Linked DNA regions of Homo sapiens: all the other regions are linked to region 1. Evidence: promoter capture Hi-C in 16 types of primary human blood cells and fetal thymus (Javierre and others, 2016). All regions are on one chromosome and are shown on one strand. Each heading gives the region's core, a stretch centred on a gene start or on the middle of the fragment in contact. The rest is flanking DNA. Distances are from core to core; before and after follow the strand shown.

Region 1 (3,219 bases), core at 226-2,725:
TCTTCTACAGAATGCCAGTGCCCAGGAACCTCCTGCTCGGCACAGGAGTACGCTGGTTGACCGACCATCTTTGGAGCCCAGCCCCTTTTACGTTCAGCAGTAAACCTGCCCCTTCCTGCACTGCCTACTACCTGAAAGGCAGGTATGTCCAGGTGGGGGGTCCTCAAGCCCCACAGCACTAAGCTTGGTGTGATTCTGTCTCTCAATCTCTCTCTCTCTCCCACCTCTATGCTCCCCCTTGCCTTCATCTCACTCCTCAGCCAGGATTCCTCTGCACCAGGCAGGCCAGTTTCCTCTTTGTTCCTTCACAACACCCTGTTCATTTCCAGAAGCTTCTATTCAGTCTGATACCCAGGTCTAGAATGCCCTCCTTCCCTTCACAAACGAATCCTACCCCTTCCTTAAGGGGAAGATTCCTACCTACATCCCAACATCTCCTCCTCCAAGAAGCTTTCTCTGGCTATTCCAACCCATCCTGCCCCCACTTCCAGGCGGTCGGGAATGCAGAGTGGGGGGACCCAATTCTCTCCTGTGACAGATGAGGAAACTGAGCCCAGGGAGGGGAAGGCCACACCCAAGATGACACACCAGCAGAACTAGGTCTGGAACCAAGACTCTGCTGCACTAATTGTTCCAAGATGCCCTTCCTTCCTCGTCTCCTTTGCTGTGGTAAAAATTTTCCAAACTAGCCTGGCCGCCCCCAGTTGTAGGTAAGCGTCCATACTTACTCTTCCCGCTGCAGGTACGAGGACCGGGCGCGAGTTGTCACTCCCCTCACCTCCCCCGCTCCTCACGGCCTAGCGCGACTCCTGCCCCGATCGGGAGTCCAGTCCCGGTTTCTGCGGCCACGTCGGGCCGGTGACCTTGGCCAGGCGCTGGACGCCCCGCTTCCTCCGTACAAGGCAGGCAGCCGATCCCGCGAGTGGGGCGTGAGCGCGGCCAGGTCTGTGCCACGCTCGGCCCAGGGCCTGGTTCACACCAGGTGCTCGGCGCGGGCCGTCCCCCGCCGCCGCCGCCGCGGTCACTCACTGCCGGGCGAGGCCAGCGCCCCGGCCGCCGACGCCGCCTCCGACCCCCGGCTCGCGGCCCGCGGCCCGCGGCCCCTTCCCATTCACGCCGCTCGGCCTCGCGTCCGGGTGCCCGCGCCCGCCAGGCCCCCGGCGTGAGGAACCCGGCGGGCCCGAGGCGGCCCCGCCACCGCCCGCGCCCTCCGCCCGGCCCGCAGGCCAGCCCGTGCACCGGCGGCCGCACCTCGCCCCGCCGCAGAGCCGCACGGTCGCTCCTCACCTGGGCTCCCCGAGACAGGCGAGGCGGGCCCGGCGCCCAACACCATGCCCGGTCCGGGCGGCTGCTGCGAGACGCGGCCCCTCACAGCCGCACCGGCTCCCGGCGGCGGGACCGGAAGTGGCGGGGCGGGGACTCGGCCGCTCTCGCCCGCGGCAGCCGAGACAGCAGCGGGCGCTTTAAAAAAAAAATTCAAAGTCGCGAAAAACTTTATTTGGAACCAGACACGCGAACAGCGGCGTGCGCCGATCGGGACTGGGCTGGGCGACGGGCCTCTCGGACCTCGCTCATTGGCAGAGGGCGCGGCCAGGGGGCGGGCACGGATTTCGCAACCGCCGCTGATTGGCGAGTAGCGTTAGGGGCGGGGATTCCGAGTTGGCTCTGGAGCCCGAGCGCCGGAGGGCTGGGGGTTTTGCACCTGGTTCCAACACGGGTTCACTTCGTGGTCTGCAGGGTTTAGGGGCACGGAGGAGCCCGGGCTATCCTTCCCTGAAGGAGCGGCCTCCGTGGCTGGAGCTCCCGCTGTCCAGCGCCGCACCTGGAGTGCAAAGGACTGGACAGGCCCCCGCAGCCTGCAGTGCAGGCGGTGAGGGAGACCGGGCGGTCAGACACGCAAGCCACGACCAACCCCAAACCGTGTGCTGCGCCCACAGGCCCCACTGTTCTTGTCATGTCCCTTTTATTCCTTCTTTTCTCTCTTAAATGTGTTTAAAGTACCTTAAAAATCCATTTCAACTTGTCCTCTTTTGGGCGCCCAGATTCATCCCGCGCCCATTAGCGTCCTGTGTGATTGACGAGGGGCCGTCCTGGGCGTCAGGCAGGCCCCTGGAGGAGTGGGCCATTAGAAAGATGAGGTTCAGCATGGAAACGGTCAGAAAGAGACAAGGAGTTAGACTTTCATTTCGAAAAACCCCACTGAGAGGTTTCTAACAGTGGAGTGACTATCAGGTTTTCTTCCTAAAGGAGGCTGGCGGGCCCGGTGGCTCACGCCTGTAATCCTAGCACTTTGGGAGGCCAAAGTGGGAGGATCCCATGAGCCCAAGAGTTTAAGACCAGCCTCCTGATGGTGGCAAGACCCCATCGCTACAAAAAAAGAAAAAAAAAATTAGCCGCGTGGTGGCGCGCGCCTGTAGTCCCAGCTACTCAGGAGGCTGGGATGGGAGGATCACCTGAGCCCAGGAGGTTGAGGCTGCAGTGAGCCGTGATCGCACCACTGCACTCCAGCTTGGGTGACAGGGCAGACCCTGTCCCCATAATAATAATAAAGGCTTTGGCTCTAAGTGAGTCGGTGGGAATGGAGTCAGGAAAACTGGTCAAGAACACAACTCAGCCGGGCGCAGTGGCTCAGGCCTGTAATCCCAGCACTTTGGGAGGCCGAGGCAGACAGATCACCTGAGGTCAGGAGTTCAAGACCAGCCTGGCCAACATGGCAAAACCCCATCTCTACTAAAAATACAAAAAAGCCGGGCGTGGTGGTGCGCCCTTGTAATCCCAGCTATTTGGAACGCTGAGGCAGGAGAATTGCTTGAACCCAGGAGGCGGAGGTTGCAGTGAGCTGACACTGCACTCCAGTCTGGGTGACACAGCAAGACTGTTTCCAGAAAAAAAAGAAAAAAGAAAGAACACAACTTGTGTTATTTCTTGTGTTTGGGACCATGTCTCTCCCTTTTTTGCCCGGCTAACTCTCAAGTTTTCCTAAGCTAAGACACCAACTTCTGATAGGCCTCAAAGCCTGGGGGTGGGGTGGGGCAGTGCAGGTGCCCTCTGTGTCTTCCTTGGAGCCCTGCACTTCCCTCTTCCTTATTGTCATGGCCTGTTTCCCTGACTAAGCTCAGCTCCTCAGCCCTCCTCTTCCTTCTTCCTCCAGCGTCACCTCCTGCCACCCCCTTTCCCATCCTGGAACATGCAGGTGATTAAAACACATCTGCTGGATAG
Region 2 (3,144 bases), core at 620-3,119, 350 kb before region 1:
ATTAGGATTCCTCTGACCAACTATGCGGTAGTGACTGGACAGCCACCGTGAGCTGAGCGCCATCACTGCCCCACAAGGATAAGGCACACTCCCTGCACCTCCCTCCTGGGGCTCTGCATTTCAGTGGGACAGACAGGCCTGGGAGAATAAAGGTTTTGGCAGCCACAGCTAGAGTGGGCTGGGCTCACACTGGCTCTTGTTCCCTCTGGGTCAGAGGACGGGTACCCGCCTACTTCACGGGACGGTGGTGATGCGGCACATTGTCCCCCTCCCACCGGGCTATCCACACAGCAGGTCCTCTCCCCACACACTGTCCAGGACAGGCTGTAAGTGCTGCACCAGCTGGGAGGACATGACCAGGGCTGGCGAGGCCCTGGGATGTGGGTGGATTCGAGAGCATTTTTAGGCACTGTTTTAACACAGAGGCACACGCTCCAGGAGACCACACGTTATAAGCTAAGGTAGGAGGGCAGAACCAGTAAAGCAAAGTCTGTGCAAGAATAAGGCACCCAACCTGTTGAAAAGAGTGAGAAACAGAGCTTGAGGACCATCACCAGGTGAGGTCATGAGGCCCTGGAAGTCTGCAAGTCCAACCTGAATCCTAAATCCCAAAACACACCTCTGAGTTCCCACGTGCCCTTGGGTCCACCATGGAAATGGGTGCTGCGCCCGCTGCAGTGACGCTCCTGAGAGTTACCAGGGAGTTACCACGAGCCTTGACAGGTCCCACTCAACAGGGGATGTTTGTTGTGCAATTTCTATGTACCTTACCCAGTGCAGATCACCAGAGCCATGCTAATAAGCAAGCCAGGGTCTCCGTCACGGAGGAGCACACCATCCGCAAGTGGAAAAAGCTACAGAGACCACCAATCTCAACGTAGGGCAGGCTGTGCAGCTCTGTTACAGTCTTTCCTGCCAAGTCCCCCTACAGCCGCCTCCACTAAATCCACCCGCAGGCATTTATTAAGCACCCAAAATGTGGTATGGAGGGAAACTTTGGGGCAGAAGGGTTGTATAAAAAATATTATTTCCATTCTCCCAGGATTTAGGGAGTGCCTTCCACGTGCTACATACTTCAGGGCAAGCGAGAGGGGTTCTGCAAGGTTAGACGAGGCAGGAGTCACAGAAGCAGCTCTGCCAGCAATAATGGAAGATGCACTCTAAGGAAATACAAGGGCAGGCAGGGAAGAAGTAAGAATGCTCCTGAGGGCCCGGAGCCTCCTTGTAAGCGGCGGCCCGGAGCCGGGGGAGGGGCAGGACCTCCTCACGGAGGGCGCCGCGGAATTGGGCCTACAGGCCGGGCTCCCAGGCAGGGGCCGCACAGAACTCTCGCCCCGACCCCGGAACTGACCCCGGCCCCCGACCCGCACCCTGTGCCCGGCCCACACCCGGCCCTGAACAGGTCCCCGACCTGCACCCCGAGCCCGGCCCACACCCGGTTCACACCCGGCCCGGGCCCCGACTCCGGCCCAGCCCCGGCCCCCGACCCGCACCTGAGCCCGAGCCCGGCTCGCACCCGGCGCCACCCGGCCCGGGCCCTGACCTCGGCGCCCACCGGAATCCCGACCCGCACCTGGCCGGGCCCGGTCCCCGGCGCCCACCTCCGTGATGATGTCGTGCAGGTAGCGGAACGGGGGCTTGCTCAGCAGCTTCTCGGTCAGCGGCGGCCTCCGAATCACTTTCCCCAGCGCCTCCTGCGTCCGCCTCACCACCGCCGCGTTCATGACGGCGTCCGCCGCCCGCTGGCCGCCCGCGCCCCTCAGCCGGCCTGGCCGAGCCTAAGCCCGGGTCCCTGGCCGCCGCCGGCCCCGCCGCCGCCGCCGCCCGGTCCTGCCAGGACGCGCCGCTCCGGTTTCCATCCCACAGTGCACCGGAGCCCACCACAGCGCCTGCGCGGCCGCCGCAGGGCGTTCGGTCACTAGGGCTGCGCGGCCTTAGCAACGGACGCGCCGCGGCGCCCCGCCCCCTGCCCGCCTTCCAGCGCCCGCGCAGGCAGGAGTGGGGGTTCCGCGGGAGGGATTTGCGGGAGTGCGGCTGTGCCAGAGCAGGCGGGGCGCGGCGGGGCGGGGAAAGGGGATCTGGGATCGGGCGCCTGGCCCCTCCTCTGCCGAGCGACGGCCTCGGGAAGCCGGTGTTCGCTCGCGTTAGAGGCGACTGCCTGAGGACTGATTAAGAACAAGGTAACCTCCAAGATCTGTGCCGCCTGTTTCCCAAATCTCAAGGGCTTTCGAAGGCACTGGTTCATCGGAGGGGACGGCACTAAGTTATCCCAAAACACACGGAATAGAAAATACGCTGTCCTGGCTGGTAATTAATAAGGCTTCTTGGGCAAGTCACCTGTTTTCTCTGAGACTTCACTTCTGCTCCCACAAAGCAGGACTAGTGTGCCCGCTGCCTAACCCACCTCCCAAGAAGGTAAATGGTGACTAAATGCTGTGTCGGTGCTCTGAAACCGGGACAAAGCCATGCCTAGTTGTCCTACTAGGTGTCCGTGATTCTTTACCACCTGTCCTCTGTCCATCATGCACAGGCCTACCGCAGAAATCCTTCCGGCGATTTGAGAGCTCTGGGGTCTGTAGTTCTTCTAATGAGAACACCATTATAACCTTTTTTTTTTTTTGAGACGAAGTCTGACTCTGTCGCCCAGGCTGGAGTGCAGTGGCACGATCTTGGCTCACTGCAACCTCCACCTCCCAGGTTCAAGTGATTCTCCTGCCTCAGCCTCATGAGTAGCTGCGACTTCAGGCTCCCGACACCACACCAGCCTCGCTTTTGCATTATTAGTAGAGACGGGGTTTCACCATGTTGGCCAGGCAGGTCTGGAACTCCTGACTTCAGGCAATCCGTCCGCATCGGCCTCCCAAAGTGCTGGTATTACAGGTGTGCGCGACCGCCCCCATTATAACTTTTAAATTGACCTTCATTTTTACCATTTTCAGGCCTCCTCATTTTTTGTGGAGATCTAAATCGCCATCTGGTGTCATACCCCTCCTGTCTGAAGAACTTCCTTTAATATTTCTTCTAGCACAGTTCAGTTGGTAATGGAAAAGTTATACAGACAACCAATTTCAATGCCAGTCAGGCTGTATGGTTTATCAACAAATACTAAATTGCATTTTTATAGTTTTCCTTCCATGTCCCCCT
Region 3 (3,257 bases), core at 758-3,257, 460 kb before region 1:
ACGACCTGCACTGAAGAGAGGGGCTCCTGTTAGCTCATGGAGGCCCTGCCAAGACTAACCAAAAGGGGGTGCCATCTGCAGCGAGCCTTCCCTCTCCCAGCTACGGGGCACCTTCAAATGCTCAAGAAATAAATCACAAGCTGGGCATGGTGGCACGCCTGTAATCCCAGCTACTCAGGAGGCTGAGGCAGGATCACTTGAGGCCAGGAGTTCAAGATCAGCCTGGGCAACACAGCAATACCCTGTCTGTAAAAACAAAAGAAATAAATCACAGAAAATAGTAGAAACCTTCCCTTATTAAATTAGCACACTCCTGACACCAACGCTGACAAGAATAATTTTTTAAAAGTTGATGGGGCCCAGGAACTATAAGCCAAACCTACTGAAGAATAAAGAAACAAGATCCTAAAGAAAATATCAGCAGATTGAATCAATATTGTGTCAAAGAATCCACTGATAAGGCAAACCTGAAGAATACGGATGCAAGATCCTAAAGAAAAAATTAGCAGATTGAGCCAGGTGAGGTGGCTCACGCCTGTAATCCCAGAACTTTGAGAGGCCGAGGCGGGCAGATCACGAGGTCAAGAGATCAAAACCATCCTGGCCAACATGGTGAAACCCCATCTCTACTGAAAATACAAAAAATTAGCTGGGCGTGGTGCCGCGCACCTGTAGTCCCAGCTACTCAGGAGGCTGAGGCAGGAGAATTGCTTGGACCCAGAGGCAGATGTTGCAGTAAGCCAAGATCGCGCCACTGCACTCCAGAGCCTGGCGACTGAGTGAGACTCGGTCTCAAAAAAAAAAAGAAAAAGAAAAAAGAAAATATCAGCAGATTGAATCAATATTGTATCAAAGAATCTAGCAAATATCTTAGTACTGGTATTTGGGAATATCTTAATACTGGGCAACTATGAAGGAGAACATAGTCATCTCCTTCACTACAAAAAAGACATACGGCAAAATCCAACGGCTGAGCAAATGCTGCTATCTGCTACACGGGTGACTCCCTCCCACGCTGCCCTGGGCAACGGCCACAGGGAGGCCTGCCTAAGAAACTCCTCAGACAGGTGCACTTGACCATAGAGAAGTCCCACCTCAATAAAAACGAAGGTTAAAAACACATGTACATAAATATAAATCCAGCCCATTTAATGAAGACTATAAAACTCAAAAACAACACAAAAGAACAGAATAAGCAGAAAAAACACCAAGTACTTGGATTAAAAGATTCAATAATCAAGGAATTTTAAATAAAGCGTGACCCATTTCTTTGGGATTTTGTTATCAGATGTCACAAAAAATATTCTAAAGTTTATTTTAAAATATAAGGGAGAAGAACTTTTTTGGTTTTTAGTAAGTGTACAGAGAAAAGACCTACCCTACTAGGTAACAGAACACTCATCAGAATAAAAAAGAAAATCAAACCATCAGCTGCCCAGAAAGATCTCAGTATAAACAACCTAATACCGGCAGCCTTCATTTCACTGCATTTCACTTTATCAAGCTTCACACGTAATTGTGTTTTTTTACAAACTGAAGGTTTGTGGCAACCCTGTGCTGAGCAAGTCTTTTGGAGCTATTTGTCCAACAGGATGTGTCCATTTTGTGTCTTCTGGGTCACAATCTGGTAATTCTTGCAATATTTCAAACTTTTTCATTATTATTTTATCTGTTATGGTGATGAATGATTTGTGATGTTACTATTGTAATTGTTTTGGGGTGCCACAAACTGTGCCATATGAGACAATGAACTTAATCCATCAACGTGGTCTGTGTTCTGACTGCTCCACCAACCAGCTGCTCCCACTCTCTCCTCAGGCCTCCCTGTTCCCCAGACACAATATTGAAATTAGGCTAATTAATAACCCTACAACAGCTTCTGAGTGTTCAAGTTAAAGAAACAGTCACACATCTCTCACTTTAAATTAAAAGCTGGAAATGATTAATTTTAATGAGAAAGGCATGTGGAAAGCTGGGAAGGTTCAAAGATAGGCCTCTTGTGCCAAACAGCCAAGTTGTGAATGCAAAGGAAAAAGAGCTTGAGGGAAATTAAAAGTGCTACCCCTGTAAACACACAATTGATAAGAAAGCAAAACAGCCTTATTGCTGATATAGAGGAAATCTGAGTAGTCTGGAGATACGATCAAACCAGCCACAACATTCCCTTAGGCCAAAGCCTAATCCAGAGCAAGGCCCTAACTCTCTCCAATTCTATGAAGCCTGAGAGAGCTGAGGAAGGTGCAGAAGCAAAGAGTGAAGGTAGCAGAGGTTGGTTCACGAGGTTTAAAGAAGCCATCTCCATCACACAAAAGTACAAAGTGAAGCAGCAAGTGCTGCTGTGGATGCTGCAGCAAGTTATCCAGAAGACACGGCTAAGATAATTGATGAAGGTGGCTATACTAAACAACAGATTTTCAATGTAGAAGAAACAGCCTTCTATTGGAAAAAAAGATGCCATCTAGGACTTTCATAGCTAGAGAGGAGAAGGCAATGCCTAGCGTCAAAGCTTTAAAGGACAAGCTGACTCTCGTTAGGGGCTAACGCAGCTGGTGACTTTAAGTGGAAGTCAGTGTTCATTCACCATTCCAAAACTCCTGCCTGCGCACTATAAATGGATCAACAAAGCCCAGGTGGCAGCACATCTGTTCACAGCATGGTTAGTGAATATTTTCAGCCCAATGTTGAGACTTACTGCTCACAAGATTCCTTTCAAAATACTACTGCTCGCTGACAATATGCCTAGTCACCGAAGAGCTCTCATGGAGATGTACAAGATTCATGCTGTTTTCATGCCTGCGAACACAGCCATTCCGCAGCCAATGGATCAAGGAGTCATTCTGACTTTCACGTGTTATCATCATTTAATACATTTTGTCAGGCTATCGCTGCCATAGGTAGTGGTTCCTCTCATGGATCTGCGCAAAAATGAACTGAAAGCCTTCTGGAAAGGATTCACCAATCTAGATGTCATTTAGAACATTTGTGATTCATGGGAGGTCAAAATATCAAAAGGAGTTTGAAAGAAGTTAATTCCAACCCACATGGATGACTTTGAGGGGCTCAAGACTTAAATGGAGGAAGTAACTGCAGATGCAGTGGAAATCACAAGAGAACTAGAATTACAGCCTGAAGATGTGACTGAACTGCTGCAATCGCATGATCAAACTTGAATGGATGAGCAAAGAAAGCAGTTTCTTGAGATGAAATCCACTCCTGGTGAAGATGCTGTGGACACTGTCATAATGACAACAAAGGAT

Evidence for each region. The method cuts DNA at HindIII sites, captures the fragments that hold promoters and counts their contacts. A CHiCAGO score of 5 or more calls a contact.
Region 2: the fragment with the promoter of TRAF3IP1 here is called in contact with the fragment with the promoter of UBE2F-SCLY in region 1 in 1 of 17 cell types (naive B cells); the score reaches 5.3 in naive B cells.
Region 3: a contact is called between a fragment that was not itself captured here and the fragment with the promoter of UBE2F-SCLY in region 1, in 1 of 17 cell types (total B cells). The highest score is 5.2, in total B cells.

Annotation. Positions count from the first base shown.
Region 1 is chr2:237,965,201-237,968,419 of GRCh38, reverse strand. UBE2F-SCLY (UBE2F-SCLY readthrough (NMD candidate)) reads right to left here and starts at 1,475. Exons shown (of 19, transcript NR_037904.1): 1 at 1,288-1,475. UBE2F (ubiquitin conjugating enzyme E2 F (putative)) reads right to left here and starts at 1,406. Exons shown (of 10, transcript NM_080678.3): 1 at 1,288-1,406. RefSeq lists a silencer at 1,183-1,362 and a cis regulatory region at 2,879-3,219. The HindIII fragment of the contact is 5,181 bases long and covers 453-3,219 here.
Region 2 is chr2:238,319,243-238,322,386 of GRCh38, reverse strand. It overlaps TRAF3IP1 (TRAF3 interacting protein 1), which reads right to left and starts at 1,869. Exons shown (of 17, transcript NM_015650.4): 1 at 1,602-1,869. The coding sequence starts at 1,724. RefSeq lists silencers at 1,376-1,605, 1,736-2,215. The HindIII fragment of the contact is 10,073 bases long and covers 1-3,144 here.
Region 3 is chr2:238,430,302-238,433,558 of GRCh38, reverse strand. ASB1 (ankyrin repeat and SOCS box containing 1) reads right to left here. Exons shown (of 5, transcript NM_001040445.3): 2 at 1-5. Among named protein-coding and RNA genes, the nearest start is that of ASB1, 5.0 kb to the right of the region's middle. The HindIII fragment of the contact is 1,002 bases long and covers 1,507-2,508 here.